6 separate regions of the Homo sapiens genome follow, and all the other regions are linked to region 1. The links are contacts of gene promoters, found by promoter capture Hi-C in blood cells and fetal thymus (Javierre and others, 2016). All regions are on one chromosome and are shown on one strand. Each heading gives the region's core, a stretch centred on a gene start or on the middle of the fragment in contact. The rest is flanking DNA. Distances are from core to core; before and after follow the strand shown.

Region 1 (5,015 bases), core at 2,516-5,015:
CAGTTCTTAAATGATAGGAATCTGTTGTGACTATGCCTCTGCAGGTGTCAATTATCTGAAATCCCCTCAATTTAGTACGTATTATGAACTAACAAAATATTTTTGTTTTACATCAGTCTTAATAGTCCCATTTTGCTCAATTGGGAATAGTGCTAGCTCTCTTGTTTGAGAACTGTTACTTCAAAAAAAATCCAATGCAAGGTGCTGGTAAGTCCTCTTCATAACCTTAATTAATACTTGTTAGTGATTTACAGTAAAACTGCTTTTAGTGAAGTATATTCACTTGGCCCATAAACACTGAAATAGATGAGGTAATGATACATTAGTAATGTAGTAATAAATTAGTATGCCAATTCTGACAAAAAATTACCAATAGCTCCCCCCACCTTCACTTACAAGAGGGTTCCTGGTTTGAACCCTAACATACCCTAGATATACATAGCAATTCTGCTGATAGGAAAACCAAGTCTTAGCACACAGCTAATAAATGACAAACATGGGACTAGAATTTAAGTCTATACTGCCATGAACCTCATGAGGAGGAGCAAATTGTTAATTAAGTTGCACTCTAGTTACAAGCACTAACAAAACACAAACCAATAACATGGTGTGTGCTATTAAGAAAAAATAAACTGAGGAAAACATTACTTTCTGACATTCTGAATGATCCAGTGTATTTAGTCTTACTTTCTACAAAACTAAACTAAAAATTAGCCAGGAATGGTGGTGAGTGCCTGTAGTAGTCCCAGCTACTTGGAGGCTGAGGCAGGAGGATTGCTTGAGCCCAGGAGTTCCAGTGCAGTCCAGCCTGGGCTACAGAGCAAGACCCTGTCTCTAAAAACAAAAGAAACCAACTAAGTAAAATATCAAAATTACCTAACAGTACCTACCCACCATACAGCCAAGCTTGCTAAAGGAAAACCCAGTTTAAGATTTCTCCAGGCCAAGAGGAGGAATGAGAGAAGGATTAATTTCCTCAAGTTAACACTTTCCTTAGGTCCAAGGAATCAATGCCTTAAAGCACACTGAAGTTTAGAACACTGTGGTGACAACAGACATTCCTACCTCTCCTGATTTCCACTGGATTAGCACCTTTGCTAATCTTCTCGAAGCCTTCCTTGGCTATAGAGCGTGCCAGTACAGTAGCAGTGGTAGTGCCATCCCCAGCTTCTTCATTTGTGTTATTGGCAACATCTTGAACAAGTTTAGCTCCAATGTTTTTGTATTTATCTTTTAAGTCAATTGACTTTGCAACAGTCACACCATCTTTTGTTACTTTGGGACTTCCCCAACTCTGCTCAATAATCACTGTTCTTCCCTAGAAGAAAAAAATGTAACAGGATCAGACATACCCTAAGGATGATTTACATTTTTAAAAATGAGCAGTCTTCATAATAAAGCAACTACTTCAAAGTCTCAACGTAAGTTGTGTCATTTTTATCAGTCTTGCAGCATGAACCTCAAGGGCAAGTTTATCGACATTCTTTGTCTACAGACAAAATGACCTGATTCTCTGCCAAGAGCATAATTTTGAACTAGGTAATTTAGGAGATTAAAATCCTAGGGACTAAAACTTGTCATCTTATAAAATGAACAAGAACACAAGACAAAGAATAAAACAATCTTCCTATCACTTATACTTTAGTTAGTGCCTGTTATCTTTTAAAGTAATGTGACTTGTTTTAAAATCCGTTTAACTAAAATATTAACCATCAAGGCAAGTAGCGTGCTCTTCCAGGTTCACGCAACATAAAACTTCAACCATGGCACAATTATTGGCCATCCTTTGGATTTGAACTAAAGCTGCTACTTTCTATTTGTGAGGTGTGCAAATGTTGTATTTTAGGCAGTTGTTGGATCACTTGATATCTGAACTGTCTTCAAACTGAAATGAAGCACCACTTGACTGCACACCACCTTCAAAGGCCTCCTCAAAACATTACCCCTATTAAATGAGACTTATTTTAAATATGCTTTGGAACAAGAGAACAGCAGAAAACCGATGGGTAAAACTAGCATCTTGGGGTGGAGGAGAGAATGGGAAGCTACTGTCTAATGAGTACAAAGTTACAATTTTTCCATATAAAAAGTTTTGGAGATGGATGGTGGTGATGACTGCACAACATAAATGTAATTGATGTCCCCAAAGTGCACACTTAATGGTAATTTTATGTTGTGTACATTTTACTACAATAAACCAAAAAAAAATTTAGCATCTACAAGCACATACCTAAGGAATTATGGAAGATAAGTTAAACTCTTCTCTCTACACTTGGCATGAACTACTGGGAAAGGATCCAAATTTTAACTTAAGCCAGCGAAATTCTACCTCGAGTTTAAGAATCCACCTTGAGCTGTAAGTTACTACCTGATTACATCACACATTGAACAAAATAGTTTCGAAAATCTGGCTGAAGCAGTTTAAGCTTTAAGATCATGTCTAAGAAAAAAAGGCTAACCAATACTTCAGAATTCTTACATGTAAACTGAGTTCTCTCAAAAATGGAGATGAAAGTACTGTTGAATAGTTCAGTGCGACTATTTGTGAGTAAAATGCTATTAATAATACCGTAATTACAATAAAATAAAAATACTGGTACCTTTGGCCCCATTGTAACGGCCACAGCATCGGCTAAAAGGTCTACACCTTGAAGCATTAAGGCTCGGGCATCTGCACCAAATTTTACATCTTTGGCATAAGCCCGAGTGAGATGAGGAGCCAGTACCCTGGACACCGGTCTCATCTGGCGAAAGACTGTGGGTAACCGAAGCATTTCTGGGGATGGAAGCAAAAAGATCATCAGAACTACCACCCGTGGTGCGCTGCAGAACAAACATGCCCACCTGTGCAACAGAGCAAGCAACGTGAGATGCTGAGCCTGGCTGACCTCCGCCAGCCACTACGCCTGAATGACGGAAGGCGCCGCAGCTTCGGAACATCAGCCACTAGCGCAAGCTAAAGAGGCCGCCCCGGCCGGCGCCTGACCTATAGCACCAGCACAAAGCACATGCGGCTCCTTCCCCACGGCCACCTATCCCTGCCGCCAAAAACGAGTTAATCTTTCACCGCGAAAACGGCCTTGTGGGCAGACCCACTCCAACTGTGGCCCCTGAGAAACCAAGTCAGCCGGAGAGAGGCAAGTTACAAATCCAAGTGACCAGGGAAGTTAAAAGTATTCCTGACGGTGCAAAAAGCCGCTCAGCAAAGTGTCTCCATGGATCCACCCAAGGCTACTGTATCAGAGCAACCAGCAAGGCCGCGATGCTGGGGGCGGCGGCCCGGCCCACTCGGCGCGAGCCCACGTGTCCTTCTTTCCGAACGCCCCCAGCAAGGTCAAGACTGGAGGCGCGGTATCCCAGCTGCCTGCGGGGGAAAAAAGCGGTTCCCTCACGTACACCACCCTCCCCGGTTCCCTGAAGTCGGCCAGGCGCAGGTTGCACCAGCGGGCCTAAGTGGTTACAATCCCCCAAATTCAAACCCCACGAGTTGTCCCTCCCGCGCCCAGCCGAGGTCCAGGATCCGCGTCGCACGTGATGGAACCCGCATGGACCCGCGAGGCCTGGACCCGCAGGCCTGGGCCTGCGGTGCGGCGCGGTGCGGAACTCCAGGTTGTCGCCGCCCGCACCCTCCAGCTGGACCGCAGAGGAGGAAGGCCCACTCGGGGGTCGCAGGAGCCGGGGGGAGGTGGTGCGGGAAGGCCGCGTACCTGCGGGGCGGCGGCAAGGCGTGCGCTCGGCGAGACAGGTCGTCGGCGGCGAGTGAGGGACAGAGTGCAGGGCGCACACCGCAATGAGCCCGTGTCCCCTCCCTCCGCCTCTACTCCCGCCCCGCGGCACCGCGTGTGCAGGCAGCTCCCACCCACTTCCCGTCAGCCCGGGCCCTGCAATCTGCACACCCTGCGCGCGAGCCCCGCCCCTCCCTACCCGCGCAGGGTGTGCTAGCGCGCTCAGCCCTCTCCGGCCGGCTTAGTCTAGTTCCCGGGCCTCGCTCGGTTCCAGAACTTTCCAGAAAATGCCGCGCTCCCTACGGCTCAAGGGTCAAATCGCGTCATTTCCGGGAGGGGACGAAGGGGTAGTTCTTTCACCTCGGCTGGGCGCCTAGAAAAGCCTAGAAACAGCTCCTTTTTTCTTCCGCCTCCGAGTCTTCGCGTCAGCGTCCTGCGCAGGGCCCTTGGGGCGAATCGCGGTGCGCGTCGGGGCGACCGCCCTCCCTCCCTGGGAGGGGCGAGGGGGCTAGCGGCGACCGCTGGGGCGAGCGCGCCTGCGCGCTGGGTGATTTTTTCACGTGTCGCCAGGGCCGGACTGCGAGTCTCTTTGCGGCGCTACACTAGAGCAGAGTACGAGTCTGAGGCGGAGGGAGTAATGGTGAGTCCCGCGTGGCCCCGAGGCCTGCAGGCCCGGGCCTGTCTGAGGCGTACGGGGATCCCTGACGCCCCTCTTTTGTTGGGCTGGGCGGGAGGGATTGGTGGCCACTCAGTGACCAGCGCCCGATGGCACCTTGGAGCGGCAAGGCCCGCCCGACCCTTTTCTCCCCCAGGGCTCTTTGCACGCGCGTGTGCTGCCGGTGTGTAAGGCAGGGGGGCGAGAACCCGGGCGCACGCGCAGCGTCTCACCTGCTTCTGCAGGGCCTTTGTGGATGTGTAATATCTTGGGTAAAAATCATGGTGCCAGGCAGGGAGCTTGACCCAGCGTTTCCTGAAAATTTCTGGAAAAACCTGAAGAAGGAAAACATTTGACCTTGGAATAAACTAAGGTTGACCTTAAAGCTGGTCTGGTTGCTCACCGGAGGAGCGACAACGACCCCTAACAGACGTAAGGAATCGGGAATTAAACTTGGAATATTGGTTAGTACATTCAAATGCGCTTCCTTAACGAATAAGCTGAGGTTTGGTGTTAACTTTCAAAGCCAAAACGTGTTGAGATGTATAGCACGGTGGCGTTGCCTGTTGATAATGTGATTACATTTAGTTTTTGTTTCAAAACATTTCTCTTCCTACAGGCAGGACAAGCGTTTA
Region 2 (5,015 bases), core at 1,496-3,995, 860 kb before region 1:
AAGACTCTTTCAAATCCTAATCTCTATACCCAGAGCCAATACTTTACCAAAATATCTGGATTGCCCACATAAGGTGAGGAGCCAGTTAGTGAATTTGCCATTTTTATTCTTTTATTTTACCAACAAGATATGAAAACTTTGGGTGTTCTGTTTGCATTTCTTTGTCCACGGAATACATTTCCAACTCCAAGGGGAAGTAGTTGCAGGGAACTTTACTGCCATTCGTGTAACTACAATGTCAAATCATCTGCAGCGTATATTCTATTTGGAGGCCTTTTCCTGGCTTACAAGTAGAGAGTGAAACACAGCCTCTATTAGTAGAGCCGTTTCAAAATTTATTCATTCACTCACCTAACAAAAACTTTCCAAACCCCTACTGTGTGCCGGGCATTGTACTTGGTGTTGAAAAGAAAAAAACAAATTCCTGTCCTTAAGTAGCTTACAGCTCAAATAAGGGGAAATAAGATACATTGACAATTATGAAGTGCTTTGGGAGAGAATAGAATGGCTTCACAGAAGAGGCTAAGTTTCTGTTGAGCTGGTGAGACTGACAAGAGGAAGGCCGTGCGCAGCAGAGTGAGCATAACCTGCAAGCACAAAGACATTCTATGGTAGCAGGCTTGACTTCAGAGTTCCACTGGGGCACTAGGTGCAGAGTAGGCTGGAGGGTTTGGCTGAAGCTATTACCAGTTTGGTCTTCATCCTGCTCAATGGAAAACTTTTCGTTCAATGGGGGAACGATTAAATGTTTTTAAGCAAAGACCTGAGATAATCAGATTTACTTTTTTAAAAGATCTGGTAGCCATATGAAGGATACTTTGGAAGGGGTAATAGGAAAACCAGTTAGGAGGTTATCGCAGTGAAACAGAATGTGGTCTTCATGGAATATCTAGGATTTCCGTGAATGAAATGATCTTGTTTGATAAATGGGGTAATGTCTGAGAACTATTTATCAACTGAAAATCAAGAGGGAAATCAGCAAGAAAATCGGTATGTTTGGCATTATTTCAATCAAAATCCTGGCAGAATTTTTGTAGGTATCAACAAGTTGATTCAAAAAATTTGGGAGAAAGGTAAAGGAACTAGAAAGTTAAAGGAACAGCCAAAACAAATTTGAAAAAGGACAAAGTTGGAGGACTATACTCCCTGATTTCAAGTTTATTGAAGACTTCAGGTCCTTTTCTCTAACTCTGTAATTGCTTAAGTTCTTATACGGTTTGCCAGACAGTGAATAAGGGAAAACAAATGAAAAACACGAATTTAATCAGTTTGGTTCCCTGACTGCTGCTTAATATGGAGATTTGAGGAGAAGGTGAAAACTCTCATTACACAAAAACACGTGGATACATGTATCACTCATCTCTTAATTCCACTGATAAACCAGAGGTCATTGCAAGATAAAACATACATAATGAAAATAATTGGCTGTTTGCACTGACGCTTTAAAATACATTTTCATTTCCTATTAAAAGCTTTATTTGGTCCCTTTCTCTGAATAATGTATGCAGTGCTCATTTCTCTTCACCGGATCGGCTCAAAGCTTGATGAATATGGCTGTGGTTTGATGGGCAGTCTCTGCATCTCACATTGAGGCTCCGCTATGAAAAGAATTAGAATAGCAAGATCAATTGTCAGGCTAAGTAAATGAGCTCTCATCTCGGATCTGATTGCTTATATGAGAGGGCTGAAGTGATTCTTGGCTGCACTCTCAGGGAGAAGAGAGAAATGCATTTTAATTGCCCTGGCAGGGATAACAGGTGTTCTGTCCAGCTACCAAAACGCAAAGCCGCGTCTTTGCACTATAGAAGGCTTTCCCTTAAGTGAGAATACATATTCTTAAAGCAAAACAACTCAGAAACGCTGGTGTGGTGATGCACGCCTGTAATCCCAGGACTTTGGGAGGCCGAGGTGGGCGGATGGCTCGAGCCCAAAGAGACCAGCCTGAGCAATATGGTGATGACCCCGCCTCCACGAAAAAATACAAAAATTAGCCAGACGTGGTGGCGCGCGCCTGTGGTCCCAGATACTGGGGAGGCTGAGATGGGAGGATCGCTTGAGCTCGGGAGGTCGAGGCTGCAGTGAGTCGAGATCGCACCACCGTAATCCACCCTTGGCGACAGAGGAAGACCCTATCTCAAAAAAGCAAACCACCAAAAAAACCAGGGACAGCTCAATGCTCTTTTCCGTTTCATAGCTACTTACACTCAGATTTACAAATACCTATTAACTTGTAGACAGGGCAAGAAATAATTTATGCTGAAGAGACGAAAGACCTGAAAACAGATTTCTGTGTTTTACTCTCCATGTGGCCATCATGGACGAGGACGAAGAGGGACTTGATTTTTCCTTTAACGAGAAGAATGTTTAAGCTCTGAATTTTTAACCAATTTTTATGCTCGTTACTCTGCTGTAGGGTATGTATTTACCAAGATTAGCAGAACACCGCGAGTTCACCAGGCGGAGACAAGTCACTGTGAAGTGGGCAGCACAGGACCCCCCGGAGGGCAGGCGCCGGAAACTACATATCCCGGCGTGCCCCGCTCGCGAGCACAGTGGAGCCTGCCGCCATTCGGTTCACGGCGCTACGCATTCCCTGAGCGCCGCCGGATGCCGGCCTGGGTCCCGCCCAGGGCTGAGGGCCCTCCTGGGCCGGGAAAACTACAGTTCCCGACATGCCCTGCCACGGGTGCGCCTGCGTACCGGAGCTACTGCGCCGGGGAGCGGGTTGGTTTAAAATGCTGTGTTAGTTCCACGGAAACCCGCTCGCCTGCTGCAGTACGGAGCCTCAGGCGGACAGATGGACTGTAAGGTGAGGCTGCCGGGCCCCGGGCTGGTGAGGGGTGGTCGGAGGCTCGCGAGGCTTCGGCTCAGATAAGGACAGTCACCACTCCCTGGCGCCCTCTCCCTGTCCTGACGGAGTCCAGTCTCACTCCCTGGACCTCAGGGCCCTGATTTAAGGCGCTTTGGCGTTGGCTGCCGGTGAAAGCCATTTAGGAGCGAAGTTTGCATTGGCCTGGCTCCAGCTGAGGGATGGGAGATAGCCACCGAAGCCTCCAGATAAGCCCAATACCACCTTTATTTATGTGTTAAGTTGGAGTTTAATAGGTTCCTGGGAAGGCTATTTCGGCGTTAATGTTTGATTTTTGCCACCAGTTAATCCTCCCTGGCTTGCTTACCAGAATATAGGTGTCAGGAATTTGCACTTGTTCTTTACGGTTTCCGCAGTACCTGGCGCTCTTGCTAGAACGGAATAGACATTCGTTAAATTCCTGTCGAAGTATTCTCCTGTTTATTTACCACCTATAATTTCCCAGGCACTGTATTAGGCTCTAAAGATAGAAAAATGTCTATTTTTAACCCCACTTTAGAGAAGTTCGTATTAGTCCGTCTTAAATGCCCCCCAACACATGCTTCTAATTTGTTAATCTTGGCGTGCTCAGGACTAGGTCCTTTAATCCTTTGTGTTCTCTGTTATCCCGCCTTATGGTTTTCTTGAGCTCTTCAGAAATTAGTCTCCAGTCCACACCTCACCCCCAAACTTCAGATCCACAAATTCAATAATGTATTTGGTATCTTTCATGTTTTAAATTTGACATTTTAAAAACTACTCTTTATCTTTTCCACAAAACGGATTCTTCCTTAATAAGTTTGCATTGTCTCAGTGATAGCACCATCCAGGCCAAAAACCCTGTAGTAATCTTGGCTTCTTCCTTTCCCTCATATCTCATATCTAATGCATCAGCAAAAGCTATCTTTCAAGTATATCTAACCACTAACCACTTCTTACAGTAGGAATACCGCTGCTGTCACCTTGGTTCTGGCCAGCAGCATCTCTACTTCTGCTTTTGTTCTTCCACCATTTGGAGTGGGAGGGAGTCAAAATGATCCAGTTAAAAGGAAAGTTGGATAGCATTCCTCAGCTATAGACCTCCAGTGACTCTGAGAATCACTGACAGCAAAAGCCAGACTTCTACAATGGCCTTCAAGGCTCTGTGTATTCTGTTTTTTGTTTTTTTGAAACGGAGTCTCGCTCTGTCGCCCAGGCTGGAGTGCAGCAGTCTCAGCTCACTGCAAGCTCCGCCTCCTGGGTTCACACCATTCTCCTGCCTCAGCCATCCGAGTAGCTGAAACTACAGGAGCACGCCACCACGCCCGGCTAATTTTTTTTTTATTTTTATTTTTGTATTTTTAGTGAGACGGGGTTTCGCCGTGTTAGCCAGGATGGTCTCGATCTCCTGACCTCTTGATCTGCCCGCCTCGGCCTTCCAAAGTGCTGGGATTACAGGCGTGAGCCACCGCGCCCAGCCGTATTCTGGTTTTATTATTACCGTCTGACCTCATCTCTCAATGTTCTCTGTGTTACTCCTTCCTCTCCAGCCAAACCCACCTCTTTATTATGTGCGGACTCATCAGACCTTCTAACTTCAGGCCTTTGCACTTGCTGTTTCCGTCTTCTGGGCCTTTCTGCCCTCTGATATCTATATAACAGGTCTTTGCTCAAATGTTATGAGGCCTTCTTTGACCACCCTGTTTAAAATGAAAATCTGCCCTGTAGCCTCCATACCATGTTCTTTCCTATTTCATTTTCCTCCTTTGCACTTATCACCAATAAACAAACTATGTATTTTACTTAGTGTCTGTCTTCTTCAGCTGGAATATAAGCTCCACGAAGGCAGGGAGTTTTGTTCGTACTGTTCTACCCAACCCCTGCCCCCCGCCTCATTGCCTATAACAGTGTGTGGCTCATGGTAAATGTTCAGGAAATATTTGTTAGATGTGTGAGTGAATGAAGACAGTGTTACCATATTATTTTCTAGTGGTTGTGATAAACAACATTGACTCCCTGGACTGTTATTTTGGAACCAACAGCATGTACTTGTATACGCTTTTGCCAGTGTACACCTATTGCCAGGTGTAGGAATGGAGCCTGTGTCCACAGAAGCATGTGTTCTCTTTTCAAAGTCATCTGGTTTTTACTAGTATATTACTTGTGACATTGGTCTTTTTCTTGCCAT
Region 3 (5,015 bases), core at 1,075-3,574, 750 kb before region 1:
GTTTCTAGGAAACCAAAGCAAATAAAGTTCATTTCCCCTCAAGCTTCTATAATCATTATGCATTCTAAAATTCACCTTTTATCTTTTTCTATTATCTATTATCTGTCATAAACAGTTGAGTTTAAGACAAAATCTCTCATAAGTCAGTTTGCCTTTTTGCATTTTGGACAACTTTAAAATTCCTCTCTGAAGGATCCGATGTTCCATAGTGGTGGGATTAATTGTAGAGGACACTAAGATCAACAAGAATGCTATATTGTTCTACTTGGGAGTGTAGAGAAAGGAGAAGGAGTTGTTGTGAACTAATGTCTCCCTTGGAGTGGCATCATTAGGCAGGTTTTGGATAGGTATCCTTCAATTTCTGACCCAGTATTAGACCATTGTTCTTTCAGTGATCCTTTTACTTACACTATCTTCTCGTTTCTTCAATAGTCTTTCCATTCTTAACAGGAGACTTTCTGGTCTAGTTTTATGTCAGAGATCAGTTTTATATAAAGAACCATAAGTCCTATTGATTTCTAGATTGTATACTTTTTAAGGCTACCCAAAAACATTTGTTCACATATTAGATGTTTTCTAAAATAGTTTAATGTTTCAATTTACTTTTTTTCTTATGACACTCTGAAATTTAGATTTAGGCCCATTAATAAAAAGAGAGGATAAGGCTTTCTTTACTTAATCTGTTGGTTCTACCCCAGAATACTATATGAAAGAAGGGCAAAACTGCTAAGACATTTGCCAACTATTTAACATTTGGCATCGCTCTTCTCAAGAGCATTTATTCTGGCTCTTATCTGGTGATCAGTCATGTCATTGAGCAAAAGGGGCTTAAGTTGGCACTATACCATGTGATCCTGTGTTCCCTGCCTTGGACTTCTTTAGACAATAGAGACTTTATAAATCACTTTCTAATTGTAAGCCCTTTTATAAATGGTCAGAAACAATGTACAGTGTAGAGCAGACTAAAATAGACTATGGAATATTTTCTGTTTACCAACCTCAACAGAAAGACAGCTTTGCTTTTTTTTTTTTTTTTTTTTTTTTTGTAGTTCTAATAATATTGAGTCTCATTGGACTGGTCATATGCCTACTGTCAACCAATCACTGTGACTTGAAAGATGGATTATGCACTGATGCTGGGTCTGGGTGCCATGTTCCATCTCTGAAACTGAGGATGGTTTCCCAAAGCAAATCAAGGTGATGTTCTCATAAGAAAGGGTAAATGGTGTTAGGTCAGACCAAAACCACAGATGTCCAACAGTCAAAAGATTGTAAGTAGAGAAAATACACCAAGGTGGTCACTATTGAATTTTATTAATGCTGCAGCCAGAGAGCTCTGAGCTTGTGCTGGGTTATTCTTTTATACTGACACCCCTTTTTCTTTAGAGCATTTATATAAGATACCCACAAGCTGTCAAGTTCTTCCTGAAGTTTTTAAAAACTGATTCTTTAATAACCTAAATATAGGAACCTCCAGGTAGCTAGACAATGGCAGCTGCATAGCTACCTACCTCTCAGTATTTCCTCCACCAGCAATATGCAACAAGACAGGAAAAGTCAGTTCTACATAAAAAACACACCCTCAGCATAATTTGAAGATGGACAATGCCAAATCTTCAAAATATCCAAGTAAAAAGAGAAAAATCACCAAACCCCTCTCCACACTCTGTCATATGAGTATTTCTGCGCAACCCTCACCTCACCACAAAGTAGCAAACAAAGGCAGAGCAAGAAAAACTGTAGGGACTACAGAAAAAGGAAGCTAGTGCGGGGGTCCAAGGTTGATCTGAAACTACCACCACAAAGACTAAATGGACCCTAAGTCTGGAAATACTCAAAAAAAAAAAAAAAGTGTCCAGGCAGATGACAGCATGAACTACAGGGAAGGAACTTTAGGATACATAGGATTTAAAGATGCAGGCATGTTTAAAGGCAAAGGGCATAGCTTCTGAAAAGGCAAAAAGAAAGGGAGAAAGCCCCTTTTGGCAATTGGATTGTTAAAAAGAAAGGAAAAAAAGGAAAGGAAAAGAGGGCTTAGCAAGAAAAAAGAGAAGCATAAAATCAAAGGACTCAGAACCCTTCCCACAATCATCAACACACACACACACACACACACACACACACACACACACACACACACTCTCTCTCTCTCTCTCTCTCACCTGGAAAAACACCTGGACTTTGCACACACCTGGACTTTGCTACATTCACAGAAGAGGACATGACAAACTAGAAATATTGATAAACAGCCCAATACCACAAACAGGAGCAAGAGGAAAGTTCATACAGAGCTACTGCCAGAAATCAAGAAATGAAATTCCCTTATATCAAATTAGGAAAAAATTCCCCAATAAACAATTACAAAGGAGAAGAAACTGAAAGTGAACACTTCAAACAAATATATTCAGACAAACTTTGAGGATATGAAAAAACATTGTGAAACAAATTCAAAAACAGGATGTGGACAGAAGTGGACAGAAATCAGAGATAAAAGCAAGAGTCATTGAAAAAGCCAGGAAAACAACCAAGAAAATGAAAATGACAAAAGAAGAAATAAAAAAGATTAGAGAAAAAGTAATGGAATGGAAAACTGTAATATTTATGTTATTGAGGAAGAAAATTAAGTTAACAGAGGTTATTTTTAAAACTATAATCCAAGAGCACTTTCAAAAATACAAGAAAAAAATCAATCTATAAACTTAAAGTGTTTAACAAGTATTAGGTTGGGGTGCAAAAGTAGTTGCAGTTTTGCAATTAAAAGTAATGGCAGGCTGGCACGGTGGCTCACGCCTGTAATCCCAGCATTTTGGGAGGCCGAGGCGGGTGGATCATCTGAGGTCGGGAGTTTGAGACCAGCCTAACCAATATGGTGAAACCCTGTCTCTACTAAAAATACAAAAAAGTAGCCGGGCGTGGTGGCAGGCACCTGTAGTCCCAGCTACTCAGGAGGCTGAGACAGGAGAACTGCTTGAACCTGGGAGGCGGAGGTTGCAGTGAGCCGAGATCATGCCACTGCACTCCAGCCTGGGTGACAAAGAGGGACTCCGTCTCAAAAAAAAAAAAAAGAAAAATAATGGCAAAAACTGCAATTACTTTTGCACCAACCTAATACTTGGGAAAAATTGAATGATCAACTTTGAGACACATTCTAATAAAAGTATTAAATTTCTTTTTTTTTTTTTTTTTTTTTTTTTTTTGAGACGGAGTCTCGCTCTGTCGCCCAGGTCGGACTGCGGACTGCAGTGGCGCAATCTCGGCTCACTGCAAGCTCCGCTTCCCGGGTTCACGCCATTCTCCTGCCTCAGCCTCCCGAGTAGCTGGGACTACAGGCGCCCGCCACCGCGCCCGGCTAATTTTTTGTATTTTTAGTAGAGACGGGGTTTCACCTTGTTAGCCAGGATGGTCTCGATCTCCTGACCTCATGATCCACCCGCCTCGGCCTCCCAAAGTGCTGGGATTACAGGCGTGAGCCACCGCGCCCGGCCAAAAGTATTAAATTTCAAAGACAAAATATCCTCAAGGTCAGAAGACCAAAAGATCAAAAGAATTTACAAAGGCAAAAGACTGTCAGACATTGAGAAACCAATACAGTTAGCAAGGTGACAAGGAAGTGGTGTGGTTGGCAGGATTCTAAGAGAGGCCCCAGGATTCTGTGCCCACTGGTGAACATGCCTGCATCATCCCTAGACTGTGAAAGTGATGGATTTTACTCCCGTAATTAGATCGTATGTCACAGTTAATTTTAAGAAAGGGAGATTATCCTGGCGGGCCTGACCTAATCACATAATCCCTTTAACAGCAATTTTCTCCAGATGCTTGAAGAAGAGAAAGAGATTTAAAGCACAAGAAGGGTTTCATGTGCCCTTGCTGGCTTGAAGAGGAAGAAGCCACGTATGCAGGTGGCCTCTAGCAGCTGAGAGTGGCCCCTGACTGAAAGTCAGCAAGAAAGCAGAGACCTCAGTCCCAAAACTGCACCCACCTGAAGGAGCTTGGCAGCACATTCCTTCCCTGAAGTTGCTTTAGGGCTTGGAGCCAAGTGGAGATGGAGCTGAATGTTGAGTAGAGTTGACCTGGCTCAGTCTGGGCCACCAGTCCATTTCCTGACAGCCCCTCAGCACTTCTGTACCTTTTCCAGCACCCAAAAAGGGTGCCTTGGGGCAGGTAGAATCTACCACCAATAATAATGATTCCTGTCAAAGGAAACCCAAATAGGATTTCTCTCCCAGCCTAGGTGAGGCTTGTAAGTTTCTGATTTCTACTGCCTTTAATGTAGGTGCCAGCACCTCTTCCCACACCTTTAAAATCACTGCTGCCTCTACTGCTCCGAGGCATTGGAGTAGCTGAACAGAGCTATCCTATGTTGTTTCCTCTGATTCTCTAAAGTCTCAGCTTTGCCTCCTTCCATCAGAATCAAGAATCATCGTTTCTTTTGCCTCTTGAGCTGCCTGAAATGGCCTGCAGATGGCAGCACTCTTGACTCTTCTCCGCCTTCAGGGCTTTTGTAAACAGAAGTAAGTTCTTGACAAGCCCTAGCGGACAGACACCAAGTGAGAAGACTTCTGGCTTCCTGAGGAGACTAGGTTCATTTTTGTTTAAGGGAAAGCCGAAAGCTTGCTATAAAGCTTAGCCAAGCCCACAGGCCATGTACTCTTTTTGTACTTCTAATCCTGAAGTAATCTCAGAGAGCTTTGTAAATCCTTCACAATCCACCTCTGTCTCTTAGCCTCTGAGGCGCCCCCAGCTCCCACTTTCCCTGTTAGCTTTCCACATCCGCTATTTCAGTGGTCCTGTTTGTTCTCTATTTTGTTGGTCAGATGTAGATGGGGCTGGTCTGCTTTCTTCTGGGATCCTCCTAAGAACTCCACTCGACTTCCCTAGATCTTCCTTATTTTTCTAAACACAATCCAACTTTATTTTGAAGTTTCATGTTGGCCATAAAAGGGGAAAAAAATTGATAAACTTGATGATACTAAAATCTAAAACTTGAGTCTTAAAGACACCACAAATAAAGTGAA
Region 4 (4,775 bases), core at 2-2,501, 730 kb before region 1:
AGCTCTTCTGAAGATGTAAGAATTTTTTTTAGCTAGGGATAAATATTCACAGAAAACAGAGCCAAATGTTACAAGTAGTTACCAGAGATTCATAATCTACAAATACACAAAACTTTTAAAAAATAATTTGAAGTTGGCTTGTGCCGTTATAGGCCAATAAACTTTTTGATGTGAGATTGACGCCTAAAAGATTGAGCAAGATATAAAATAATGATAATGTACAAAGGTTTCCTCTCAGGAGCAAATTCACTTGAGTATACTTAACCTTTTAGGGTAAATTTTACCTTTTATAAGTTACTTCTCAGGACCTTGATAACCTCTTAACCCAAAAAAACTGGATTTTTTTCTCCTGAAAGCTTCTGACTCAAAGACTATGGAGAAACTATTTCAGAGCACAGCTACAATGACGCTGGCTCCCTGTGGGTCACACAGTCCAAAAAGCAACTTGTTTCTTTACCTCTTCCCATATTCACTTTCCCTTTTAATAGAGCTTCAGCTTTTATCATTCACTGAAATTACAAATTGCAAAGGTCTGAGTCCTAATTAAGTAATCAAATATATTACCAGATAATTAAGAATAAATCAATTTATGAATATAGAATATAAAATGTAATTATTCTCTAGATGATCTGCTATATAATAAGTGGTCACAAATTTTCCTTTATAAATAGGTAAATAATAAAAATGAATTATTTTAAATGAATGCATTTTAGGGGTAGTAATACTCGTGTTCAGTATACAAATCATACTTTCTGCATAATAAAATAACCTATTTGTGTGACTATGACCTCTATTCCACTGAAAGACACAGCTCTCTTAAGTACCAGCAGACTATTCGACTGCAAAGAAATATCAAGTATTCATAGTTAAAAATGACAAATTTAAAGATAAAAATATGAGGAAAAAGGAATAGTAATCTCAGATGAATTGTTGTAATGCAAATGAACCTGTAGGTCCCCTAATACAATAATGGAATAACTTGCTGCCCTTTAAGAAATGTTTAACAAATTTAAGAGGATAACCTGAAAGACTATTCAAATAATATTTAGTGATTTAAAAACTAGCCAATGTGGGTAGCCACTTTGTAGGTACTGTGAATTATCAAATTTAAAAACTGCAAAACAAATTCTATTGTTCTATTCTGTTCTGTTCTCCCAAATGGAGTCTTGCTCTATCACACAGGAGTGCAGTGGTGTGATCTCAGCTCATTGCAACCTCCACCTCCTGGGTTCAAGCGACTCTCCTGCCTCAGCCTCCCGAGTAGCTGGGATTACAGGCACACGCCACCACACCTGGCTCATTTTTGTATTTTTATTAAGACCATGTTTCACCATATTGGCCAGGCTGGTCTCAAACTCCTGACACCTCAAGTGATCCACCCGCCTCGGCCACCCAAAGTGCAGGGATTACAGGTGTAAGCCACTGTGCCTCGCCAAAAACACACAGTTTAAATTGAAAAGAAAAGAGTTCTTTTGACATTATGTTACATTTCAAACATTTAAATCAAATTAATCACTAAAGGGCCCAATGTACTCACTGTCTATACAATATTAAATAAAAGTAGAAGTAATGAAACATTGACGATTTTACTTTTAATACAATATAAAGGTAAGAAAGATAATAAACCATAAAAAAAATTTTTTTAGGTAGTATAATAGAAAACTATAGTCTTGTAGCAAGAAGAAAGAAAAATAAGAGAAATTAAAAGTTTCAGAAATGATGCTATTTACAATAAAACCTGCTTCTCAGAAACTTTTTTTATGGAAAATGTTTAACATACACAAAAGAGATTAGTCCAATGAACTTCCATATTCTCATTACCTCTTGTTTCATCTCTACCTCCAACCACTTGAAACCTCCTATTTAACTATAAAAGTAATTTGAAATTTAGCTTCCATATTACTTTGAAGTACATGAATTTTTGTCCTACCAAGCCCAAAAACTACATATTTTACATATTTAATGAGTTAATCCATAAAATTTTCCTATCAATTTTTACCAGAATTTTATGAGGGCAAGAAATTCCATCTGTGTACTTACTCACTGCTACGTCCCCGATTCCTGGCACACAATGAGCACTACGTTTAATTTATACACAATCCTACATTACTTAGTACAGCAAATAGTATCCATTAAGGAAGAAAAAGAAGCTTTGAGGAAAAGGTAGATAAGAATATAAAAAAGGAAAAATTTAGAAGTTTTTGTTTTTCAGGATTTTTAAAAAACTTATTATAGAAATTTTCAAATATACAACAGTAAAGAGACCACCTTAATGAACTCATACCTAGTTTCAACTGTTATCACCATTTTAATGCAGGCTTTATTTTAACCATTTTACTTTAAAAGAAACAAAAAGCCCCTTACTAGACCCTGCAACTCCATTCAAGTCAACATTTTCTTTCTTTTCTCACCTACTACTTAATAAAAGACATGTCTATACCATATCATATTTTGGAAACATCAAACATACAAAAATGAAGTCACAGAAATGAAAATGCTGAAGGCAAAGTAGTGAACAATATTTCTGATCTGCTGGACTTTATACTTTTATTAGAAGAGACAAGCCATTAAGGTAGACAACAAGAAACATAATTTCAAATTATTATAAGAACCACAAAGAAAATTTTAAAAGGACAGTTTGTTGGTGATGGTGTAAGGAAACAGGCACAATCATATTATTGTATAATTTTTTTTTTCAACTACTTTAAGTGAATCTTCAGTACCTCAGATGGTTAGAGACCTTGAGGACCAGACTATAAGGAAGCCTGCCAGTGCATTCCTCCAGATTCTGCCTGTGTCTTTGTCCCTAAAGATCTGGCTGTGTACCTTTACTATATCGCTGTAATAAGTCTTAATCATGAGTATAATTATATGCTGAGTGCTGAACACTGGGGTAAGTGTTGGGGACCCCCGTCATGTGTACTGAGAGCATTGTGTATTACTTTTGAAGCAGGATTTTTAAAAAAAGTATTAAGTATATTCATTTTTAAGAAACATAAAATCAAGTAACGAGAAATTTGAATGAATTACCTGTACAATAAGAGCATGTCTCCGTAACACATACTTCTGAGATGCCATATGAATAAAGGTTAGGCCTATACAGAAGCTATAGAGAGGTTCGTCAGGGTGAGTGCGAAAGGCTTGCACATACTGTCCTGGAAAATAAGCAGTGGTGTCAGACGGTGTGACAAGAACAGAGTTATTTATTTCTTCAACACTTTTAAGGCCAAACATTACTGATTTTAACATACATAAGGTGGACATTCTATCTTAAATAGCAACCAGAGACCTATTAATTTGAATTTTAAAACAATGTATAAAATAAAACAAGTTCCCCATGAATGTATGCTGACCATGAAGATTCATATGAGGAACTAAATTAACTTTTTCTAGGCACAGCTAGACATTTCCATGTAAAGTAATACTTCCAAAATAAACAATTTATCAGCTGCAATCATTAAATCTATTTTATGACCTTAAATCTAGTTTGAAAAGAATGGAGGAGGTGTGTTTTGGTGAACATTTTTATAGAATCAACTGATCTGTTTTATAAATTCAAATGTGGTGGATCATGGAGGTGAGAAGAGGAAAGCTTTGTTTTGTTTTTTAGACTACAGGTGTTGTTTTCCCAAATGTAGCAATTATTTGTTTTTTCTGAGAAAGCTAAATGTATCCAATAACAGAATAAGAATTTGGAGTTTTATGAATTACATGTATTCCATATATACAATCATCTCTTGTCAAAAGCCTAATCATATGCAGTAGGGGTATTTAAGCAAGTTTTTCTCATAAAGGAATAACATATAATGTATCACATATAGATGAAAATTTCTCTTCCTTCTGGCTTCTATTTTGGAAGGAATGGCACCACAGAATCTCTTAGGCAGCAAAGATGGTAGACTGCCATTTGTCTATCATTTTAACCTTTTGTAAAAGTTTCTAATATAGGAAAATAAAATATTTTTATTTTCTTAATATAAAACAATTCCACAAAGCACACACAAAAGAGGAATGTTTCAACATCTGATGTTTGAGGTTACTGGATGAACGATGATAAAAATACGGGCCATATACAAGGAATCATGAACGTATCAAATAGCCAAAAACCATAGTTTACTCATAAGAAGTAAATCTGGCAACACCACCTTTTAGGTAGTAAGACATGCATGCCTAATTTTAAGTTTAAACATTTAGTTAGTTAGATGTTTTTCTACTTGTTTGCTTCTTCTTTAATTTTTTTTTAAAAGGAGACTCTGCAAGTAATACTTGTTTACTTCTGATTCCTTATTACAGAAATTCCTTATTATAAATGATTAATGAAGTTTCCTTGAGTTTAATTAGAATTAGTAACCACCACATAAATAAATCTTAATATAGATTTAGCTCCTGAAGGAATGAACTTTCAGCAAATCTTGAATGTTTTGCATTATGGCAAATTAAAATCAGGTGGCAAAAGCATCCATAATTAATGAAAATCATTTTAAAAATAAATAGGCCTAAGCAGGGAGAATTGTTGACCGTTAAAATGAATTTTATAAGACCTGTGTCAGCCTTTTACAACCAAAGCTTAGTAAGAATAACAAATATTAATATTAGTAATTATCATTTTTGCTATTATATCCACTTACTATATGTGCCAGGCACTGTTTTAAGTTCTTTATATTGATTCATTTAATTTTCACAATTATCTACAAAGTAGGTCCAATTATTATCTCCATTTTAGAGATCAAGAAACTGAGGCAGGAGGAGGTAGAATAATTTGTCACAGTGAGGCT
Region 5 (5,015 bases), core at 811-3,310, 540 kb before region 1:
TCCCTAACGTGTATAAAACCAAGCTGTGCCCTGACCCCCTTGGGCACATGTCATTGTAACTGCCCAGTGGGTTCACCTTGCCTGCTGCCTGGCCAGAGCCGATTTATCAAGACAGGGGAATTGCAATAGAGAAAGGGTAATTCATGCAGAGCCAGCTGTGCAGGGGATCGGAGCTTTATTATTACTCAAATCAGTCTCCCCGGTTAGGTGTCTTTCACTGTCTCAGTCATAATTTTCCAACGGCAGTGTCATCATCAGGACCTCCAGAGGCTTTATCATGGGCACGTCCTTAAACCTGGCAAAATAAACTTTCTAAATTGATTGAGACCTGTCTCAGATACTTTCTGGGTTCACAGGAGTGGTGAAAATGTTCTAAAATTAGATTGTGGTGATAGTTGCCAGTCCTGTGAATATACTAAAAACCACTGAATTGTAAACTTTAAAACAAAGGTGAACGGTATGGTATGTGAATAGTAATGTTACGTGAATTGTGCCTTATTAAAGCTGTTTGAGACAGAGTTTTGCTCTGTCGCCCAGGCTGTAGTACAATGGCGCGATCTCGGCTCCCTGCAACCTCTGCCTCCTGGGTTCAAGCGATTCTCCTGCCTCAGCCTCCTGAGTAGCTGGGATTACAGGTATGTGCCACCATGCCCAGCTAATTTTTGTATTTTTAGTAGAGATGGGGTTTCACCATGTTGGACAGGCTGCTCTTGTACTCCTGACCTCAGGTGATCCACCTGCCTCGGCCTCCCAAAGTGTTGGGATTAAAGGTGTGAGCCACCTCACCTGACCACTTTTTTTTTTTTTTTTTAAAGTAAAGAAAGAAGTTGGAAGGAAAGCTACTGAACTCAGCTTTAGAAAGGCTATAAATAGTAATTGGAACTATGGAAGGGGATAAAGTTACAAAAGATGAAGACAAGCATGGAAAGTTATAGAATCATGGGTACATTCACACTCTAGCACATTATCCTGAAATTCTATATTGAAATAAACTGAGCTCTTAAGTTTTTTAATACAAGCTGAAATTTCCCTTTGCTTTTCACTTTCTTGTTAAAAAGATACTTGATTTCTTTATCACAACCGATATTCAATGGATTGTTAATTTTAACAACTTAATTGTCATTCTCACATAGTAAAAGAATAACAAACTTTGTATATATATATAAATGCAACCCATTGTCTCTTATCTACCTGTGATCTCTCCTACCTTTCTGGAGTGAACCAATGTACATCTTACACATATTTGTCTCTAAATATATATATATATTTATATATAAATATATATATTGATTGACCTCTCATGTCTTTATATATTATATAATATATATTTATATATAAAGACATGAGAGGTCAATCAATATATTTATATATAAAAAATATATATATATTTAGAGACTCTATATATATGTATTTAGAGACAGAGTCTCATTGTTACCCGGGCTGGAGTGATCACAGCTCACTGTAACCTCAAACTCCTGGACTTAAGTGATCTTCCTGCCTCAGCCTGCCAAGTAGCTAGGACTACAGGCGTGCGCCACCATGCTGGCTAATTGTTTAATTTTTTTGTAGAGACCAGCCCAGGCTGGTGTCAAATTCCTTGCCTTGAACAATCCTCTCGCCTTGGCCTCCCAAAGCCCTGGGATTACAGGCCTGAGCCACCCTGCCTGGCCGTATTTTTAAAACCTTTATCTGGAAATGATGTTAAAAGAGTTACTTTCAAACACCAGTGAGAGGAAAACACTTCTCCTCTATGACTGGCTTCTCTCTGAAGGTTTATGAAAGTTTGACCTATTTGTAGGACATGGGGGTAATTGAATAGGGTGTACATTAAGATGAATGAGTTTAAAATTGTGAGGTTAACCCCAGCCTCACAATGAGTCAAACAATGGAGAATAGCTTGTTTCATGGAGCTGAAGCTTTTGTTATTTTTGTTGGTTAAAGATTCAAATTGATTACATGGAGGCTGCAAGCAGATTCTCTAGCAAATTGGCATCCTGGGGAGAGCCAGGTACTTTGAAAATTTCTAATTAGGAGAAGTTAAAGGTTATATAAGCCCAGCTGCCAAACTGACTGCCTGACCTTAAAATCCAAACAGAATCTACCTTCCTTTCCTTCCTTCTTCTCCTTAGCCAAGACCTTACCTAGAAATGAATTTTAAAATGCAAACAGGAACTTCTGTGATAAACCAAGTCTAAGAACTAGAAGGAAGCTTATTAGTTACAGTTGAACAGACTCTAATGGCTATTCAAAGTCTTTAAGCATTCACAGCCTTAAGTAGTCACACATTTGGCTTCAGTTTCAACTAATCCAGCTAGAGGACAAAAACATTCAGTAAATTATACCGTATCCATAGAATTTTTGTTCCTTAAGCATATTTACTGCATGTATTAGTCTGTTCTCACACTGCTATAAAGAACTACCTGAGACTGGGTAATTTATGAAGAAAAGAGGTTTAATTGACTCACAGTTCTGCAGGCTTAACAGGAAGCATGACTAGGAGGCCTCAGGAAACTTACAATCATGTTGGAAGGTAAAGGAGAAGCAAGCATCTTCCTCACATGGTGGCAGGAGAGAGAAGGAGCAAAGGGGGAAGTGCCACACACTTTTAAACCATCAGATCTCGTGAGAACTCACTATCATGAGACCAGCATGGGGGAAATCCACCCCCATGATCCAATCACTTCCCACCAAGTCCCTCTCGTAACACTGGGGATTACAACTCAACATGAGATTTGGGTGTGGACACAGAGCCAAACTTATCACTACATTTTTAGAAACAGGATAATTTAGGTATGGAGTTATAGATCCTATGGAAAAATCTAGTCAAGACCACGATGAATATGACTTAATTTTATAAATGATGTTTATACTCCTGCCAAAAAAAAAAAAGCCAAGTAGATCATTGATTTCTTACAAGTTATTTTACCAATTGTGGTTTAGAAAATATTTCTAATCCAATTGTCACCTATCTTTACCTGTAGAAACAAATGTGGTCACACACTTTACCTGTAGAAACAAATTTAGGTCACACATTGTATAAATTATAATGGGATTCAAATTTTATTTTCTTTAAACAGTAGCTATTTTTCTTCAAAATGGTCCTGGTTATTTCTGGGAGTCCCTGAACATATGCTTTCCTCATATTCACAAACCAATCTATCAGCTTTAATCACTACTAGAATCATCCACCCACTTAATTAATAGGTACTGAGTGCATACTATGTGAGAGGATACAACAGAGTCCTACAGAAATCTCTGTCCTGGCCCTCTTGGAGCATCCCTAGTATTTTTTCTTGTCTGCTCCAGTTCTCATCTGTCAACATGAAGTCCTGGCAAGCAGCTGGAAGAAATTTTTATCACTGCCTTCACTGAGGAAGTCCACTGCGAAACACTTGACCAAGAATGTGCTGAGAATACTGTCTCCCAATGTCTCCAAAGTCCCCATCACATGTGCCAGAACAATACTGGATTCCACAGGGAGGTGGGAAAAAATGGCCCTCTCCAACTCTGTGTCACTCTTTGACATCTGGGCCCCAAAGCAAGTCCTGTTCATGAAAAAAAATATTCTGTAGTTCTAGGGGCTCACAATCCACCCAATGGCCTCAGTGTCATGTTATCGTCTCCATTATCCTCATCACCCCTCTTCCCTGCCCCAAGCTATTACCAAACAAAAGCACCCAGCAATGTCAATGAGAGAAAATGTACAGTGGGTGCTGGTGGTTGTTTTTATACTAGGAGTGTCTGGACGCCAGCTGAAATGGCCTGTGACATTGTGTAGCATAATTCAAAAGTTTGGCCAGCAATCCTGCATACAAAATGCAACCACTTGAAGGTTTTGCCCAGAGCTATGGCAATAAAGTGCATAGCAGCAGTTCAGTGAACTTTCTCCATTCTTCAGCCTGCGCAAAGCACTGGCTGATGTAGCCAGATATTGTTGTCCATGGCTTTAATTATTTAGAAGTAGATATGAATAATAGGGAGCTTGAAGTTGTCTAGAGCTTGGTGTGGTGCTGGCTCAAAATAGCAACTAATTCCTATGTAAGTTTAAAAGAGCTTGGTATGGGTAACCTCTAGAAGATCCCAAGCCAAGTAGAAAATGTGGTCAGGAAAAGGATTCAGCCCTTGAATATTGAGAAATCATGTTGTCACAGAGAACACGTGACAACTTCCATGTGCAAACAAAACATAACAGATAACAGGCCATTCAGAAACTGTTACTGAGGGACTTGCTCTTGGAAGGCTGAGGATAAATTAAAATAAATCCAACCAACACCAAGTCTGACTTGACACGTAGGTGAGGCAGAAAGCTGAAAAAAAAAAAAAAAAAACTTCCAGAATTGGAGTCTTGGATAATTTTAAATGGTCTCATTCAAAAGTTCCTATTCTATAGTAAAAAAGAGTTCAACATAGGGCTATGATATTTCTAAAACAGGACTTGAATGTGGATCAGATGGCTGAAATTTTGATATTTCTAGTATTTTGCTCAGTTTTGTTCTTCCCATCATTTAAATGACCTCAAAGGAAATGTTTACGATCACTAAAGATTTCTAATGCCCAAGAATAGGTCAATTCTCAGCCCAGGGCTTGACAAATTAGCAATTAATTATTGTTTTTATTTTTAAAATATTTATTTAAAAGGCAATGCATATTTGTTTTAGATAATTTTTTTAAATACAGAAGTAAATACATAAGATCAAAAAGGTCTCTTCCAGCCATGTGTGGTGGCTCACGCCTGTAACTCCAGCATTTTGGGAGGCCGAGGTGGGTGGATCACCTAAAGTCAGGAATTCGAGGCCAGCCTGGCCAACATGGCGAAATCCCATCTCTACTAAAAATACAAACATTAGCCAGGCATGGTGGCAGGCACCTAAAATCCCAGTTGCTAGGGAGGCTGAGGTAGGAGAATCACTTGATCCCTGGAGGCGGAGGTTGCAGTGAGCCAAGATTGTGCCATTGCACTCCAGCATAGGTGACAGAATGAGACTTGATCTCAAAAAAAAAAAAAAAAAGTCTCT
Region 6 (5,015 bases), core at 930-3,429, 520 kb before region 1:
GAACTATTGTTAGCACTCTGAAAGGCTTTTCTTTTTCAATATCTGAATGACATTGCAGTAAATTAATTGGTTTTCTCAATCTAATTTCTAGTGTTAGCTGTAACATCACAATGCAAGCACCCAGATGGCACCAACCGAGCCCTTTATCATCATTTTTAGCACTGATGCCAAAAGGAAATGGGCTCAGCAGCCTAATCAAAATTTACATGCTAATGGGTAGACCCTTGTGAATGAAGTTAAGCAGAAAATCAATAAATTACCAGGTAACATTCTCCTAACAAAATTTTTTACAAGTTTTAAGTAATAATAAAACAGTAAGGAGTAAATTTCAGGCCTGAAGAAGAATGTGAAATAAAACATGGAATGGATAAATCATTTCTGAAAAAAAGAAATTCAAAAGGGAATTAGAAACCCGTTAGCTTTCTATTTATTTAGTTTAAAATTGAGATTTTTCAGGAAAAGTTAATGTTTTAAAGCAAATTTAATTTTCACCTAAACAGCAATATAGAATTCCAATAATTTCAGTCTTTTGTCCTCTGCAGAAGGCCCGCTGGGAAGTATTCAATTTTTCATTGTTATCACTAAGACGTTGTCTGAACCACACTCTCCTTTTGTTCATTCTGCAGCTCTTTGCCATCTGTCATGTTTTCTGGAGAGCCTCATAAACACATTTAGGTTAAACCATATGGTCATAAAACCTGTCATTCTGTCATAGCCAAGGTTTGGTTAGTTTTTTAATAGAAATGCACTTGACCATTTTTACTTTGTTAAAAGCTTCATCCTAATCCTGGAACCGAATTTCAGCCTGACAGTAAATCAGCTCTTAGTATCCATCTACTTAAAGTAAAATACCTGAATAATAGATGTTTTGAAGTAGTTAAATGTTCTCATTTATTTTGCTTCAATTCTATGATAAATAGCTTTTCCTATTTGTCATGTTGGCCTCCTCAGATTTTTACTTCTTCACATCCAATGCTTTTTTTTCTTCAGTCATTCTCAACCACCCACTCCCATGGTTATATCCTTTGCTTTGTCATCCTCAAAACTATACCACCTGTGAAATCTTTACTTTGGGCACTCCACATCAAGATCACCAACTCTGGGGCTACAATTCAATAATTCTGTCTTATCCTGACCCCCATTGACTACCACTTTTTCAGTATCCATCACCTCCCTCATGTTTTCACTTTCTTCCTTACCCAGTTTAGAATCCATGATCTACATAATCACATCCATTAAAAGCACCACAGTTCCATAACCCTCTCTCCCTTTGGACTTACCTAGCAAAGCTCTATACCAGGTTAAATTCCACTGTCTTCTTACTCTATGCCTACACCCAAACATCTGATGAAAAAATCCACCAGGATGACTGGTATCATTTTAGATTTATGATTATAAATCTTGAGTGTACTAAATCCTACTCAGTAACCCTCCTCTGTTACTCTAAAATGTTCTCTCCAGGCTGGGCGTGGTGGCCCACACCTATAATCCCAGCAGTGTGGGAGGCTGAGGCAGGTGGATCACCTGAGGTTGGGAGTTCGAGACCAGCCTGGCTAACATGGCAAAACCCCATCTCTACTAAAAATTTTTTTAAAAATCCGCCAAGTGTGGTGGTGTGTGCCTGTAGTCCCAGCTACTTGAGAGGCTGAGGCAGGAGAATCGCTTGACCCTGGAGGTGGAGGTTGCAGTGAGCTGAGATCGCACCATTGTACTCCAGCCTGGGCAACAAGAGTGAAACTCCATCTCAAAATAATAATAATAATAAAATAAATACATAAATGAACTCTATCTTGCCAAATCCATTGGTCAACTTCTCTGCATTTGACTTCCCAGAAGCAATTGAGACAATAGAAATCACTGACACTCCTTCTTCTATGACCCTTTATTTCCCAGGTTTCAGGGACATCTTGGTCTCTTGGTTTTCCTCCTGCCTCTGACCATTATGTCTTGTCTTCGCTGCTAGATCCTCCTCCTCCCCTTCCTAACCTCTAAATGCTGGAGTGTGCACAGTTCAGGGCTCTTCTATCATTTATTCCTGAGGGAATCTCTTCTCATTTGTCAATACTAAAAAAAATTATATATATATATATATATATGCAGAGACAAATCTCTAAGCAAGAGGATTTTATTTGAGAGTAATATACAGAAAGTAGGCTTGCAATAAGGACATGCACACAGAGACCAGGGCAGTTTCCAGTGTGTCCAAAGAACAAAGGAAAGGGCTGGAGTTTTATTGGGAAAGGAGAAAGAAGATGTAAGTTGTTTTCAAAGAAAGTTAATTGGCGATAGCAGAGTGGGCGCTGGTGAGCTCTGATTGGCAGGTGGCAGCAACTGCTAGGTAAAGTTCGCCTTGAAGTCATAGCAGGCTGTTTCCTTGGAGTAAACTTGCGAGACAGTTTTTGGAAGACGTTTGTGACCAGAGTGCTCTTTCCCAACAAAGGCTCCTTGACTCCATTTTCATTGGGTAGGACAGGAATGACTCCAAATCAACTTTCACATGTCTACAATTTCATATGATCCCAGCCCTGGCTTCTTCCCCAAACTCTACTGTTTACTTGACTCAAGCCATCAGCAAATTCAGTCAACTCTACCTTCAAGACATATCCAAAATGTGTCACAGTCTCTTCATTTCCCTTGTTGCCAGACAATCCAAGCCACTATATTTACTTGTCTAGGCTATTGCAGTGGCTACCTAATTGGTCACTAGGGTTTCTCTCTCTTGTCTCTCAACAGCAGCCAGAGTGATCTTTTAAAAATGAAATCACTGGATAAAGAAAATGTGGCACATATACACCATAGAATACTATGCAGCCATAAAAAAGAATGAGTTCATGTCATTTACAGGGACATGGATGAAGCTAGAAGCCATCATTCTCAGCAAACTAACACAGGAACAGAAAATCAAACACCACATGTTCTCACTCATAAGTGGGAGTTGAACAATGGGAACACATGGACACAGGGAGGGGTATATCACACACCAGGGCCTGTTGGTGGGTTGGGGTAAGGGGAGGGAGAGCATTAGGACAAATACCTAATGCATGCGGGGCCTAAAACCTAGATGACGGGTTGATAGGTGCAGCATACCACCATGGCACATGTATACCTATGTAACAATTCTGTATGTTCTGCACATGTACCCCAGAACTTAAAATAAAAATAAAAAATAAAAAATAAAAATGACAGAAAAAAAAAATCAGACCACAGCCATTTTTCTGCTTACATTTCTCCAGTGGCTTTTGTCACATTCAGAAAAATATAGAAACTCCTCCCAGCTCACAAAATTTTATGTCTGGGCTGAGATCGCTGTTAATCTTCTGCCACCCTCCCTTTCCCTTGAGTCTCCAGCCACACTGGCCCCATTTCTGTTCCTAGAACATAACAAACTCATTCCTGCCTTTGGGTATTGGCACTAGCCTTTTCCTCTCCCTAGAATGTTCTCTCCTCTGATCTTTGCATAGCTGGTAATTTCTTGTGGTTAGGATCTGAGTTTAAATGTTAGTAATTCTTAGGAACCCCAACTATAAAAAATATAAATAAAGTTCACGAATTTGCTGGGTACTTTCAACTCAATGCAAACACAGGTAAGCTTTTTGTGCTCTAAAAGTACTGCTTCAGTATTTTTACTTTTGAAAATTATAAAATTCTTCCAGAATGTAATACACAGTACTTCATTAAATTGACATTTAAAAGCAGAAAATAGTATCCTAGAAATTGTGTCCACCAGTGCCTAGAGAACCCTGTGAGGCTGAAGTACTGTGTTGTCAGAGCTTGCCATGTGACGGTGGGCCAAGTGCCCCACCTTTGTGAGCAGGAGTTCCCCCCACTGGGAAAGTAGATACAATCACCTCTTGCTTAAGACAAGAAATATACATGTGTATGGCCACATTTTGGTTTGATAACAAAGGAATTAAAGATGCCTTGATCTGTGCAAATCTTCTCCCCTGGAAAAATACATAACCAGGGCACATGTGCTCAGCATTGCCTTCCAAAGTTCTTTCTCAACCTTGTAAGTTCTCGTTCTGAGGGCATATAAAGTATGTTTATGCAATCCCTTGTGAAAATAGATGAGGCAATATGGCTAGTGTCATAAGCAATACATTGATGAAGAAATGATTCAGAAACAAGAGAAAGGCAAATAGGTGAGCAGTGGGGTAGAGGAGCATTGACATTCTAAGTGGCGCAGTTATTCCCTGGGTTGAGTGGCACATTTGGTCTCCCTGGCGCTTGGAACTATAAATACTCTAGTAGCAGCCCTGCCCACCCCCCAGCCATTGTGCCAACTACAAATGCCCACACATTTCCAATCACTCCCTAGAGTGCCTGAGAATTAATGAATGGCACAGCCATTATCTTGGTGCTTTATATTTTACAGCAAATGTACCTTCAGGATGAAATTTGCTAAAGAGACAATTCATATAGTACTTTTACCCACAATGTTTTTATGTTAATAGCCTTTTAGCTTAATGCTTTTGTGCTTTGCAAACTAATTCTGGAACACATTAAGTGTGTTAAGTGAGGGATACTTATACAGGGATCTAAACCTACCAAATGGAATTAGCGTGAAGGAACCTTTGACAAGCAGTTTGAAGACAAAGTGCCACATCAATGTTCAAAAATATAATTACCACAGTGGAGGCCATTATCACATTTCTCTGCTTATGAGAACACAATTAAAATTAGGGATCTCTACATTTTCCTTGAAAGGGTGAGTTCAGTCAGTCAAGCAAGCAATTTCCTTAGCAATGACTGGGAAGAAGGTGTATTAGTATGATGTTACAGCCTCAAAGGACACCGTGATAGACCAGGGTGGCGAGTAGCTTCCAAAAATGGCTCCTAGTAATTGCTGTTCCTGCTGTTCACACCCTTGGGGAATCCCTTGCCCTTGAGTATAGATTGGACTTAGTAACTTGCTTCTCATGAATAGAATATGAGAAAAATGATGAAATATCACTTCTGAAATTCAGTTGCAAAAATCTGTGACTCTGTCTTGCTCTTTGTCTCCCTGGCTTTTC

The links. The method cuts DNA at HindIII sites, captures the fragments that hold promoters and counts their contacts. A CHiCAGO score of 5 or more calls a contact.
Region 2: the fragment with the promoter of CCDC150 here is called in contact with the fragment with the promoter of HSPD1 in region 1 in 3 of 17 cell types (monocytes, total CD8 T cells and non-activated CD4 T cells); the score reaches 8.1 in monocytes.
Region 3: a contact is called between a fragment that was not itself captured here and the fragment with the promoter of HSPD1 in region 1, in 1 of 17 cell types (monocytes). The highest score is 5.0, in monocytes.
Region 4: a fragment that was not itself captured here is called in contact with the fragment with the promoter of HSPD1 in region 1 in 1 of 17 cell types (monocytes); the score reaches 5.5 in monocytes.
Region 5: a contact is called between a fragment that was not itself captured here and the fragment with the promoter of HSPD1 in region 1, in 1 of 17 cell types (naive B cells). The highest score is 5.3, in naive B cells.
Region 6: a fragment that was not itself captured here is called in contact with the fragment with the promoter of HSPD1 in region 1 in 4 of 17 cell types (total B cells, monocytes, total CD8 T cells and 1 more); the score reaches 6.8 in total B cells.

Annotation. Positions count from the first base shown.
Region 1 is chr2:197,496,075-197,501,089 of GRCh38, forward strand. It overlaps HSPD1 (heat shock protein family D (Hsp60) member 1), which reads right to left and starts at 3,766. Exons shown (of 12, transcript NM_002156.5): 1 at 3,708-3,766; 2 at 2,601-2,776; 3 at 1,066-1,318. The coding sequence starts at 2,774. It overlaps HSPE1-MOB4 (HSPE1-MOB4 readthrough), which reads left to right and starts at 4,305. Exons shown (of 9, transcript NM_001202485.2): 1 at 4,305-4,365; 2 at 5,000-5,015. The coding sequence starts at 4,363. It overlaps HSPE1 (heat shock protein family E (Hsp10) member 1), which reads left to right and starts at 4,305. Exons shown (of 4, transcript NM_002157.3): 1 at 4,305-4,365; 2 at 5,000-5,015. The coding sequence starts at 4,363. RefSeq lists silencers at 3,646-3,975, 4,166-4,225 and an enhancer at 4,366-4,425. The HindIII fragment of the contact is 3,758 bases long and covers 2,425-5,015 here.
Region 2 is chr2:196,636,970-196,641,984 of GRCh38, forward strand. CCDC150 (coiled-coil domain containing 150) reads left to right here and starts at 2,746. Exons shown (of 28, transcript NM_001080539.2): 1 at 2,746-2,809. The coding sequence starts at 2,798. LOC105373823 (a long non-coding RNA gene) reads right to left here and starts at 2,716. Exons shown (of 2, transcript XR_923747.3): 1 at 2,427-2,716; 2 at 1,459-1,598. RefSeq lists enhancers at 2,258-2,477, 2,498-2,547, 2,532-3,069, 3,070-3,607. The HindIII fragment of the contact is 4,677 bases long and covers 1,539-5,015 here.
Region 3 is chr2:196,746,740-196,751,754 of GRCh38, forward strand. No RefSeq gene overlaps it. Among named protein-coding and RNA genes, the nearest start is that of GTF3C3, 50 kb to the right of the region's middle. The HindIII fragment of the contact is 4,567 bases long and covers 42-4,608 here.
Region 4 is chr2:196,766,885-196,771,659 of GRCh38, forward strand. GTF3C3 (general transcription factor IIIC subunit 3) reads right to left here. Exons shown (of 18, transcript NM_012086.5): 16 at 3,031-3,155. Among named protein-coding and RNA genes, the nearest start is that of GTF3C3, 30 kb to the right of the region's middle. The HindIII fragment of the contact is 1,794 bases long and covers 355-2,148 here.
Region 5 is chr2:196,956,062-196,961,076 of GRCh38, forward strand. No RefSeq gene overlaps it. Among named protein-coding and RNA genes, the nearest start is that of PGAP1, 32 kb to the left of the region's middle. The HindIII fragment of the contact is 293 bases long and covers 1,915-2,207 here.
Region 6 is chr2:196,980,034-196,985,048 of GRCh38, forward strand. It overlaps a transcript of ANKRD44 not described here. Among named protein-coding and RNA genes, the nearest start is that of PGAP1, 56 kb to the left of the region's middle. The HindIII fragment of the contact is 2,815 bases long and covers 773-3,587 here.